Linked DNA regions of Homo sapiens: regions 2 and 3 are each linked to region 1. The links are contacts of gene promoters, found by promoter capture Hi-C in blood cells and fetal thymus (Javierre and others, 2016). All regions are on one chromosome and are shown on one strand. The core of a region is centred on a gene start or on the middle of the fragment in contact, and the rest is flanking DNA. Distances in the headings are between cores, read along the strand shown. Region 1 holds the start of ALKBH3-AS1 (ALKBH3 antisense RNA 1). Region 2 overlaps LOC124902807 (potassium/sodium hyperpolarization-activated cyclic nucleotide-gated channel 4-like). Region 3 has its middle 7.8 kb from the start of MIR670.

What was found. The method cuts DNA at HindIII sites, captures the fragments that hold promoters and counts their contacts. A CHiCAGO score of 5 or more calls a contact.
Region 2: a contact is called between a fragment that was not itself captured here and the fragment with the promoter of ALKBH3-AS1 in region 1, in 1 of 17 cell types (neutrophils). The highest score is 5.0, in neutrophils.
Region 3: a fragment that was not itself captured here is called in contact with the fragment with the promoter of ALKBH3-AS1 in region 1 in 1 of 17 cell types (neutrophils); the score reaches 5.7 in neutrophils.

What each region holds. Positions count from the first base shown.
Region 1 is chr11:43,919,234-43,923,261 of GRCh38, reverse strand. It overlaps ALKBH3-AS1 (ALKBH3 antisense RNA 1), which reads left to right and starts at 2,318. Exons shown (of 6, transcript NR_038907.1): 1 at 2,318-2,388; 2 at 2,798-2,876; 3 at 3,600-3,676. ALKBH3 (alkB homolog 3, alpha-ketoglutarate dependent dioxygenase) reads right to left here. Exons shown (of 10, transcript NM_139178.4): 10 at 2,988-3,344. The coding sequence ends at 3,252. It also overlaps a transcript of ACCSL not described here. RefSeq lists an enhancer at 1,837-3,036. The HindIII fragment of the contact is 1,418 bases long and covers 1,814-3,231 here.
Region 2 is chr11:43,570,418-43,574,216 of GRCh38, reverse strand. The region is part of intron 2 of LOC124902807 (potassium/sodium hyperpolarization-activated cyclic nucleotide-gated channel 4-like); the gene reads left to right. It also overlaps a transcript of HSD17B12 not described here. Among named protein-coding and RNA genes, the nearest start is that of MIR670HG, 3.0 kb to the right of the region's middle. The HindIII fragment of the contact is 1,633 bases long and covers 1,503-3,135 here.
Region 3 is chr11:43,549,833-43,553,915 of GRCh38, reverse strand. No RefSeq gene overlaps it. Among named protein-coding and RNA genes, the nearest start is that of MIR670, 7.8 kb to the left of the region's middle. The HindIII fragment of the contact is 273 bases long and covers 2,258-2,530 here.

The sequences.
Region 1 (4,028 bases), core at 1,069-3,568:
TTCCCAGCAGGGCAGGAACCCGTCGTTTGTCAAGACTTTCTCTGAAACCCTCCAACTGGAGCATTCAGCGCACTGCAGGGCCTACTTAACTCTTTCAGCATTGCAATGACACAATTCAGGAGACGGCTCTATAGTGACTGTGTCCAGACAGACCTGCCACGCACTAGGGCAGGATCACATCAGCCACAGAGGCAGAGAGTGGGTGCCACAAGGAAAGGGCAGGTTTATTAGCTGTGACTCAAACTTATCAGGAATTGTCAATGCCACCCGAGCTAGTGGGTTAATGATGGATCAATGTGGATCCTGATTTCAACACTGGGGATGCAATCTGGTGCTAAGTGTGTGTTCCAACCCATGTTTGAAGCAAGTTGCCTGTTATAAAGAAGACATTTTTAGTGTGGAGCCTGATGTTTCTTTGGGCTGCTGACTGGAGTAATGGTGTTGGTAAGTATTGTGAAAAAGCCTGCTATGAGTTTGGGTGTCATTCAGGGTCCCCAAGTGTATTCACAGGTAAGAATGAGGTGAGAAAGGACCACCGGGGAAAACTTATCTGTCTCTAAAAGTTTCATATCTCTGAAGGTGGATATGGTCAGGAAACACTTGCCAGAAAATCAAGGAAAGTTGGCTGAGAATTTGTCTAACTCACCAGAAGTTGGATTCTGTCCCCTCAAAAGGAGCTTCCCCAATGAAATGGGCAACTGCTAGTCCAGTCACCAGCAGTTTCTGGCTAGAGGATGCTGATGCTGATTAAGGAAAGATGAGATGCAGATGCCTGCCCTGATGAACAGGAAAGTCAGGGAACAAACAGGTGGCCTGTGGTCAGCTGTGACCAGCTCCACAGGAGCCAGCCCTGAGGCTCAGGCTCCCGGGAGTGCTCAGCAGACCATTTCGCCTACATTCAGCATGGCAAAGGGAAACCAAACAGGCCGAGAAACTAGCCTGCAGTCTGCAATCTGGTTCTGCCACTACAAGCCCTGTTAACTTACCTAACGTCTTGGAGATCAGTTTCCTAGCCTCTACAATGGGAATAGGACCTCTCTCTTGCAGCGCTGTGGGAAGGATAAGGGATTATGTATAAAAGCTCCTAGGACAGTGCCTGCTGAAGCTCAGAAGAAGGGCAGCAAAAACAAAACCGAAACCTGTTTTTCTTCATGCTACCGCTGTTATATTTGCTTCCTCAGCTTTACACGCGATGTAAGCAAAAACAGCTTCACCTCTAATTCCTAGTTCAGATCTAGCACCAGCAAAACAAAGCAACAGGCTGCTGCAGTCACTGAGGCACACTGCCCTTTGCCATGGTCTGGAATTCCTGTCCATGCCTACACCCTGTAGTTTTACTCTATGGCAAGTACCTACTTGCCATTTCAGAAGGGACATTATCTTAATGGTAAAGAAAAGGGCAGTTCTGGCATGTGGTATCTGGAGTGACAGCAAGAAAAACAAAACTGAAGATTTGCTGCTCTCAGACCAAGAAACCCAGGTGGTGGCCCACTCCATCTGCTGTAGAGTAGAAATGTTTCCCTGGAAGACATGGGTGTGACAAGTGAAGAGATCAAATGCACAGCTGCCACACGGGGAGATCATGACCCTCCATTAAGAAAGAGGGACGCTGGAAGACTTGGAACCATCTGCCAGTTCTTTCATTAGTAAGGAATGGAAGATAAATTTCCTAGTGTCATGCATCAAACTGATCACCAAAGCTGGCTGTATCACCTGGCCAGGTATTATTTGCATTAATAGGAGAACAGCTAAGCATTGAAAAGAGGCTTTATTTTATTCCTATGGTGATTTGAACCTCCCTCACAGGAAAGCTTGGTGTGGTGCTCAAATTTTAGAAAGTATTTCATATTTCTTAGAGAAACAAGCCGTGCTCATTTTTTGTTTGTTTGTTTTTTGTTTTTTAAAAGGGCAGGGGGACTACAATGCCAGGAGCCAGAGAGCTTGTCAGAGAACAGCCTGGCCAGGCATGGTGCTCCATCTGAGTGCCGAGTCAGAGCATGCCCAGCCTTTGGCATTTTCCTATGATCATGGACAGCATCAATCTTACAGCCTGGAATGGAAACAGGATAAAAAGCAAGAAGGCACTGTACCTTTCCCCCACTGGCAGACAGAGAAACTCTAACTCTCCCGCCCTATTTTCATCCATTTAAATTCATTTCCTTTCTCTCAGGTTTTCTGTATCTTGGTTTGGAATGAATCTGGTACACGGCTCCTGAGTCAAGAGGTCAAGAAGACACGTGGTTTTATGATGCAACAATGGGCAGCCACTCTGTTTTGTTTTGGGAACCTCAGTGACATCACAGACTAACCCTTGTACCTTGGGACCTTGTATGTAAGAAAACATTGAGTCAGAAGAGAGCGTTAGTCATAGGGCTACTGAAACACAAGGTGACGAGAACTATTAGGCAATTGAGTGCATTCCCTGCAGGGCTGCTCCCACTTCTATCTGACTTGGGTCTAGATGACTCAAGTGATTCCCGAGGGGAAAATAATCTATGTGGAACAGCTGTCATGAGCAGGCCTTCTGCTGCTCTTCAGCCTCAATTTCAGCCTGCTACTTCCCGTGACATCATTCAGTGATTCCTCCCTTTAAGGGGACAGTTTTCTCTTGTATTACAGGTGACTACTTGAAGGTGGCTAGACGAGAGCATACTGCCACCACTCTTTATTTGGAGGCCTGTAACCTGTCTTGAGTGTGTTGCAGGAAGACTCAGTTACAGTGTTCCCTGAATATGTAGCTTTCCATTACAATAGTATGCAAGCCAAGATGAAACCACCTCTGTTTGGGTTTCAGCAGCTGTCTGCCTACGGAAGGCTCCAGAGTCCCTGACGCATATTTATATCTCCACTTCACTGAAGTCACAAGGAACAAACACGTGAGATTTTCTTTTCCCCAGAGGCACAAGTCCATTGATATTTCTTCAAATGAAGGCGGGGCGTGTGGGGGGCGGGGGAGGGCAGGAGGAAAACTGCTTAGAACAAAATCATCCATGAGCACTGCCACATAGATTTTAATTTGCCTAAAGATGATAGCGATTTTGAGCTGTGGTTAGGGATAACTGTTCCCACAGTAGACCTATTACCAACATGAGTTGCTGGCTTTCATTTAATAGGACTCCAAGCTGGCAAACAAACCCCACCATCTTCCCAACAGCCACATCATGAGATCTAGCAGCACCAGCCTCTTGAAGTGGCTTCTCAGTGGAAGGTTTGCTCCGTTTCAGTGAAGCTTCTCTCTCAAAGCTCTGACGTCACCAGGGTGCCCCTCGAGGGTCTGGATAGACTGTCCGAAAGGTCAGGTTCACTCTCGGTTCTCTAGAGTGGTATTCTTTGGGCACTCGATGCTAAATGGAAATACACATAACTCTGACATAAATACACACATACACACTTTTAGTTCAAAGCGACTTAAAACTTATTCATGAGAATGCAGAAATATTTCCATCTCATCCCCCTTAAATGAGTAGTAAGCTCTTTGAAGTCTTGTGGAGAAAGGTCCCTTCTTTGAAACAAATTTCCATCCCCAGCCCCACTGTGCTATGCCAGCACCTCTGAAGTGAGATATTTTCATCTTTTCTAATTGTTGCTGTTCCTCTCAGACACCTGCCATTTCCCAAATCTCATAAAACATATAAATGGATGAGACCAAAGAGAGGCATGAGATTCCATTCTTATGGTAAGTGTTTTGACATTAACATGTGCACCTTAGAAATGATCTGGCCTAAAAATGGCATGGCCTAGCTGCAGAGCTGTGTATTCCAATAAGATAGTCACTAGCTACCCTGAAGCTATTTAAATTTAAGTTAATTAAAATTAAATTAAAAACTCAGTTCTTTATAGCATGCAAGCCACATTTTAAGAAGTCAGTCATATGTGGCTAGTGACTACTACAATAGGCAGCACAGATACTGAACACTTTCATCATCACAGAAAGTTCTACCGGACACACTAGTGTCCACCTGGATTGTCAGTAGTAGCAAAACTCCTTGGAAAGAATGTCAGCTCATTCCCTCTTGCTCGTTGTAAAA
Region 2 (3,799 bases), core at 1,070-3,569, 350 kb after region 1:
TACTCTTTGTAACTTGCCTGAGAGATTTGGGGTTAAGCTTAGCCCATCCACTACCCTCAATTCCTGTCTGTGGCTTTAGCTGTGCCTACTAAAGGGAGACAGAGGACGTCTGCTGTGTATGGAGGACACCCTCTGGCAGCCCATCAGCAGCTGTTTATTTTTAGCTCACGATTGCATACATGCATGCATGTGAGAATGTTGCTGCAGTTGGGAGGTGTGCAGTCAGGAGAAATATCAATGAGAGGGAGGCGGCCCTGGTTCTTGCACTGAAGATGACTTATCACATGGGGTCATCAAATGTGGCCAGATGGACAGGAGACGCCGGCAGTGTTTCAATAAAGTCTCCTTGGATTAATGAAAATGTCAGGCTAAACATGTTTTTAAAGGCACAGAGTAGGTATGTTTTTAGATATGAAATTAGGTATGTGTAAGCATAAATTCATGTGTGTGGGCACATTCACAGAAGCCACATGGTTTCTGTTTGGACTATTGAAACTATACAGAGCAGGGCACTTTAGAATGTAACTGCTTTCTATGCTGTATATAGTGGCTGAGTGTTATTGTGTCTGATGTTGAGATCAAGACAGATTCATTTAAAATCACTTAACAACTTTTAAGCAAACCCAGAATCTAGTCCTAACAAGTAAGGTAGCGTTGGAAATGGAAGAAATGCACATCAGAACTTTAAGGGCAGCAGCCAAAATTATGCTGGTGTAACGCCGGCTTCCTGGTGGATTCAATGTCTTTGCTCCTCCCTCCCAGAAGAGGGCGCCTCTCTGCCTTGTTTCTGTCTTGCTCCAGTAATCAAGACAGAGAGGGGCTTGGAAGCTCCGCAGAAACATCTGCAGAAAGTTAGACCTCCATAGCTAGCATCTCCATTTCCCCTACTCCTCAGTCAGGTCCTTTGGAGGATGTCTGGGCTGGAGCTGGTGAAATTGGCTTCCCGAGCTGTCTCATCATCCTGTACTAAGGGCTGTGGTGCCCAATTCCTGTCTGAGCAGTCAAGCTAAAGACCCTGCAAATGAATAGACTGATGTGGAACCTGTCCAAGGTGAAAACCGCCTTCTGCATTGCCAGCTCATTCCAGAGCATCCCAAGCATGAGGAGGACTCGTTCCCCCAATGCTCCCCCAGAGGGCTTGTGGGAGTAGGCTGCTTATCACGAAGCCCTTGAAAAGAACTGAGTCTCCTCTCTTTCAGGGTGAGCGAAGCCCAGAAACTCCTGCCTGCGTCGACTGTCTCCTCCCCAAGCACCACGAAAAATGCCAGTAGGTAATGTACTGGATTTGGAGAAGGAAAAACAGTCCAGCTCCCATGATATCAACCAAGGGAAGTCCCTCAGGGAGGAAGTCTAGGAAAAGGATTCCTCTTTTCCTAAAGGTGTCTTCATCAGGGAGCAGAACTATTTTGGCCTAAGGAAAAGAGGGAGAGAGAAGAAACCAATAGTTTTTCAGCTTCAACTATATGCCAGACACTGTGCCGGACACTTTTACATAAGAAGCTTTATTTAATCCTTAAGGCAATTCTCTAGGTGTCATTATGATAATGGTACCTACCCCTTAGGCTTGTTGAGCATAGAAATCACTCCCAAAACAGTTATTATTTTTCCCATTTGAAAGCTAGGGAAATGGAGACCATAACGTTTAAACAGCTTGTCTAAAAGTCTTAGAACTTGAAGTTACAAAACTAAGGATCAGATCAAATTCATATCTGTATGGCTCCAATACTCATGCCACATCACTCCATCATGTTGCCTCGATTCCAACCTCTGATCTTTAATATTCCAGGTCTATCCCCCAACATGTGGAGTTGGAGGTGTCTGGGACTTTCTCAGACATTTTCTGAATAACGAGACTGATCTATTCCTCCTAAGAAGCCTGTTAGCGAATAGATGCCCCCTGAATAAGGCTCTCTGCCTGTGAGAAGAGACCCCTCCATCCTATTTCAAGGAAAGCCCTAGCTGGTTTAGCCTCATCCAAAACTCAAGGGATTTGCCTGAAACCAACCAGTTTGTGGTGGAGATGCAGTGAACTTGACATTCATTCAGGCTGCTGCATCCAAGCATGCTTCCACTCACACCGAGGATGCCCCTGAGATGGTCCAGGGAAGAATTAGGAACTCCCTGGTCCAGTCTTCCAAGAAACCTTTCCTAAAGTAAGAACAGCAGAAAGTCTACATGCACCTTGAGTTAGCTAGTCATCCTAGTCCTCCGTCGCTCCTTCAGAAACTAGCATCTCTGATTATTTTTCTGATTCTGAAAACTTTATAGGCTGAGCCATTAGCACGGTGGGGGTAGATAGGCCACAGCATGCATAATTCAGGCTATTTCAAGATCCCCTCCCCTTGTTAAATACACATTTTCATCACTTACCCTGATCAAGAAGTATATTCGGTCTTGGAAAGCACTTCTTAGAAGCCAGCATATTTGGAGATTTGAGGGTGAAAGTTTTAAGGACCACTGGATGCTGGAGGAAAGTGACTGTAATTCCACCCCTTCCCCCTTTTTTTTTGGTTGCCATCAACAACTCAAAATAGTCTCAACAGTCTATTCACCTGAAAGTAACATTGTTCAACTTCAGAACAGTTGAGACAATATCTGCTTTTCGCACAACCCCATTATCGATGGGCAAACTCAAATGCCCTCCTCTCAGCCATTCTAACTGCTGGACACCTTGGAGAACCAGATGATAGGTTTTCCCATGCCTTGCTGATAAAAGGCACATTGGAGAGAATGAGAACCTAGAGAGTCACTCAGGAATACCTAGAGTTGGTTTCATGGTGAGGATCTCAGCAAAGACAGGGGAGCTAAAGCAAGCACATGATAGGGGGCTGAGGCTGGGGCAGGGATCAGGATTCCAGCACACTTGAGCTTAGCAGAGGCTAAATAGAAAGGTGTCAGGGGTTGGGAAGCATGGCCACAGAGAGAAAAGAACAATCTGCAGCATGTTTAGAGATACCTGCATAAGTTTAGCCTTAACCTTGTGGTTGAAGGACAGTTGTTTATCTACCTGAATTCAGCAGGCAGAGAGATAGCTCAATCACAAATTCATGGGTGTTGGGTAGGTCTGAATTAGCAGAACTTTTTATTCATTCACTATTAAAGCAGCCTTGCAATTAGCTGCTGATCTACTAAGCTTGGATCACTATATCTGGTAGGCCAAGAGTAAAGAATGGGGATTGTATTTCTTTAATTCCTAGTCTAATAAGTATAGGCTGGGGGACATAGAGGAATAATGGACTAACATATCTGCTGGATAGGCAAGATTTTTTGTACTTATTGGAGAGGCTATTAGTTAAATAATGAATTGGATCTGAATCTTGTCATGAGAAGAGAGACTTCAGTTCACATTTGAAAACCTGGTATCTTCCATCAGTGCTAGCTTACCTATAAAAGTAGAAAGAAAAGGGGAGGGGAGAAAATACACTTTCTAGGTATGGTGGGTTTTCAGAGAGCTACACTTTTTGTAGTAGTGATTGTCTTTGAGAAAGAGACAACAAATTCTGGTTTGGTCAATCCTCAGGATCTGTTTTGGTTTTATAGAGGTCTAAATTAACATTGTGAGGCTGGACTAACATCTATGTCTGGGCTAGGATCCCTGAAGAGCATTTGGGTAAAGAGGGACCAATAGAGGACAAATTTTAGGGCCTAACAGGGTGGATCTGACTCATCAGCACAGGGTTTATCAAAGCACTACAAACCACCCTAGACAGTGCGGGCAAATGCCACTTACCTCACCATCCAGGAACCTGTGGCTCAGGACCCATGAAGAAAAGCCTTGGGTCTCAAATGAAAATGCCCA
Region 3 (4,083 bases), core at 1,145-3,644, 370 kb after region 1:
TAAGTATGAAGAGCAGGAACATGCCTTTAGAACATGCCTTTATTCTGCCCCTCTCCCCTGACACACACACACACACACACACACACACACACACACACACACACACACACACACACACTTTGCCCTGCTTCCTTGCTCCAGGAGGTTTCAGCTCGGAAGCGTGCAAAATCCTGGTAGGAAGAAATTTCTGCCATTCACAGTCAAATCCCTAGACTGTATAAAAACCCCCTGACCTCGTGCATGATTAGATCACGGACAAGATGCCGAAGTGCTGGCAGAGCTGCAAATGCCTAGGTGGATGAGGGGGGCTGGTTCTTTTTCTGGCCTGGTTTTCCTCACTTGGCAGCCCAGTGAATAAAGACAGGGCCAAGGGAGGGGCTTGCAGTGTGGCCCAAGCCTGCACAATGCCCCACCTGGCCCGTTCAGATGTTGTCCTCAAGGGAGAGGTGAGAGTTGTGGTGAGCTGTGAGGTACTGCGGCAGCCAAGGCTTGGCATTCGAAGGCCTTGGGAATTCGTGTTAATCTGTACTGGTGCTGAGGATGGTAAGCGGGGGGGCTGTGCATTTGCCCTCCATATCCACGCTGCACTCACTCCACTCTGTTCTGAGAGGTTGACCTCTAGGGACTGCATTAACAGACTCTCCTGATCCCTGGTTCAGCCAATGGGGGCCCTGAGAGGGAAATCCAAAGATGGGAGGAAGGCATGGCAGGGTATTTATTCCCCACCTTCCTCCCTGCCAAGCTATGGGCTGTCTGTGGCTGTGTCCTTCTGTGAAAACCACAGCTTCTGTCAGGTGGCCCCCGAGCAGCTGCAGTTCCAGGTCTCTTCAAGTTCTGGACTAGTGTGAATACATTGAGACCCGTGATTCCCAGACTCTCTAGGTCTGTGGAACTCTTAACAGGACAACAGTCCATTTGCCTCAGTGGTGCCTACCGGCAACCTAAAAAAAAAAAAAAAATCTCCCATCAGAATGCTGGGTAAGTAGTGTTTATTGACATAAAACAAGGCTGTGGGGGCTTTTTCAGTTCAGAACATGAAATTAAAGAATAGATGCTGCTGGAGAGATTGCTCACTAGCAGGTAAGGAAAGCTCTGGAAGTGGGCCTTCCACTTAGCTGTTTACCAGCTTTGTGATCATGGGCAAATTACTTAATTTCTCTAAGCCTCAGTTTCCTCCTCTGTAAAATGAAAATAATAAGAATTATAATAAGCCCCTCCTCTTAGAACTGTAATGAGGACTGTAAGATAATGTATGTGAAACAGTGTAACACAGGTGCCCAGCACAAAAATAACCTGCAATAAATGCTAGCTATTTAAATATTAAGAGTATAAGTATGTATTCTATAAAATAACTACTTATGGGACATCTAGAACTTTCAAAGTTTTTAGACAATGGCCAACAATGTTTATTTTATTTTTTATTTTTATTATTATATTTTTTGAGACGGAGTCTCACTCTTATCACCCACGCTGAGTGCAGTGGTGTGATCTTGGCTCACTGCAACCTCTGCCTCCCGGGTTCAAGTGATTCTCCTCCCTCAGCCTCCCAAGTAGCTGGGATTACAGGTACTCGCCACGATGCCTGGCTAATTTTTGTATTTTTAGTAGAGACGGGGTTTCGCCGTGTTAGCCAGGCTGGTCTTGAACTCCTGACCTCAGGTGATCCACCCTCCTCGGCCTCGCAAAATGTTGGGATTACAGGCGTGAGCCACCGCGCCTGGCCAGATGTTCATTTTATAGCATGACCTGATGATACCCACAACAGAAAAAAGTAATAGTTATCCTTAAAACCTGCAATGCACTCTGCTATTTTCTCATTTGTTCTATGTCATCAAAAAATGTAGGTCACAACCCCTTAATGGCCTGAGATCCACAACTGGAGAAGCTGTGATCTGGTAGACTTGCCAGGGATCAATGTGATGAAGACTGAGTCATCTCTGGAGGTGACAGGATAGGTAAAGACCATTTCCTGATGTCTTTTAAACAGGTATAATTACATTAATGGGAGAAAAGCAGCTGGGGGTTTTCTCTGCAGAATCTGAAATTCAGACAAGCATTTGAGTGGACTTAGGTATAAGAAACTAGGACTTGGAAAAGGGGACTCAAATGTATAAAACATGGTGCTTGCCCTCAAAGAACGTATAGTTTAGTAGCAGAGCTTAGATTCATTCACTCCTTTATAAAACTGAGTACCTAGTATGTGTGACGAACGTTCTACATCAGTCAACAAGACAGGAGTTCCTGACATTACAAAGCTTAACTTCTTATGGTAGCGACAGGCAATAAACAAATAAATAACCAAATAAGTATAATATGGTTCAGACAGTGGTAATGGCTCTAGAGAAAAGGGGAGTGGAGAGTGTCTGGTAGAAGACATATTCTAGATAAGGTAGTCAGAGAATGCTTCTCTGAGAAAATATTTGACCCAAGACAGGAATGAAGCGAGGGAATGAGCCATGTAAATTCTAAAAGAAATGCACTTCATTTATAGGGACCAGCAAGTGCATAGACTCTGAGGAAGAAATAAGCTTGGAATAGTGTGGAAAGAGGAAGAAGGACAGAGTGACCAGAGCTTAGTGAGCAAAGCAGAGGGTGGTAGGTGTCTGAGAGGTAGACAGGGCCAGATAACGTAGGTCTTGACCTTCATACTAAGTCTTGAATAACATCTGAATGTGATGAGAAACCATTGTAGGGTTTTGAGCAGGAGAGTGACATAATCTATGTTTTAAAAGGATCACTCTGCTGCTCTGGAGAGAAGTGACTAAAGAGGGCGAGAAGGAAACAATGGGGCTGATCAGGAGGCCATCCCAGCAGTCCAGACAAGAGATGATGGTGGCGTGGAATAGGCTGACAGTGATGGAGGTGGTGAGAAGTGGTCCAATTAGCAGTATCTACTTTGAAGGATGATGTCTCTGCATATCCATAATACAACATGGAACGTGAGGTGCCAAGATAGAGTACACGATGTTGTGGAAACTCAGATGAAAATTACATCTGGCTGGGGGATGAGCTGGCACTTGAGCTGTGTTTTCAAGGATGAGTGGGCAGAAATGGTGAGGGAGGAGAGAACTTTCCAAAAAAAGGGAAAAGCATGCAATTGAAGGCAAAAAAGAGGGAAAGTAGAGGGCATATTCAGGGCCCAGAGGTAATTCGGTGGATATGGTGGGCCTGAAAGTGTAGAACAGGAATATAGCTGACCTGGTAGGTTTAGGATAAGTTATTATGGGCCTTGTGTGCCATGATAGCATTTGGGCAACGGAGAGCCACTGCATGTTTCTGAGGATGGTTTTATGTGATCAGCACTGAGCTTTACAAAGTTCTGGGTAACTGGGGCTGAAGGGGAACCTGGAAGCCTCTGCTTTGGGCCTCAGTAGACTCATTCGTCAAGCAGATCTTTGGCCTTCTCAGATCCTGCACCCTTTGTTCCAGCCAAACCAGCTTTCTTCCTGACCAGTGGACTAGCCAGAAACACTCCTTCCTCTCTGCCTTTGCTCATGCAGTTCTCAGCACCCAAAGCTCCTCTCCATTTATCCAGATCTTCCCCCTTCTTTGGCTCCTTGGCCTCTATCGCTCTCTCCTTTCTATCAAAGCACTTGTCTACACTTCTCACGTTGGCTCTTAACCTCACAGACCCACTGACATTTTGTTAAGTATTTCCAGAATATAGGCCTTCTCCCATGAGACAGAAATTCCTGTCGGTCAGGGACATCACCTGGCACTCCCTTTGTTCTCTCCACAGTGTCAGGCACTCAATAGCCATTAAACTGACCATTCCCATTCCTCATAAGTGAGTTTGGAAAGCCAAGGGTAGAAAGGCACTTGTCCAGACACACTGAAATCCAGACACAAAGCCAAAAGGACCCACTTCCTGCCTCCAACTCTCTTCCTATTACTCCACTTCCTGGCCATCCCAGCAATGAACACACTTAGGTTTTGCCTTCCTTGGAACTATCCTAAGGGGAATAACCCTTGCCTTGGGAATAGGATCCCTGTAAAAGTAAAAGCACCAAGTCTCTGATTTCCCTCAGGGAGACAGGGAATGGCCTGGGTCAGATTCCATCGGATTCCATGTCCTCCCCAGTC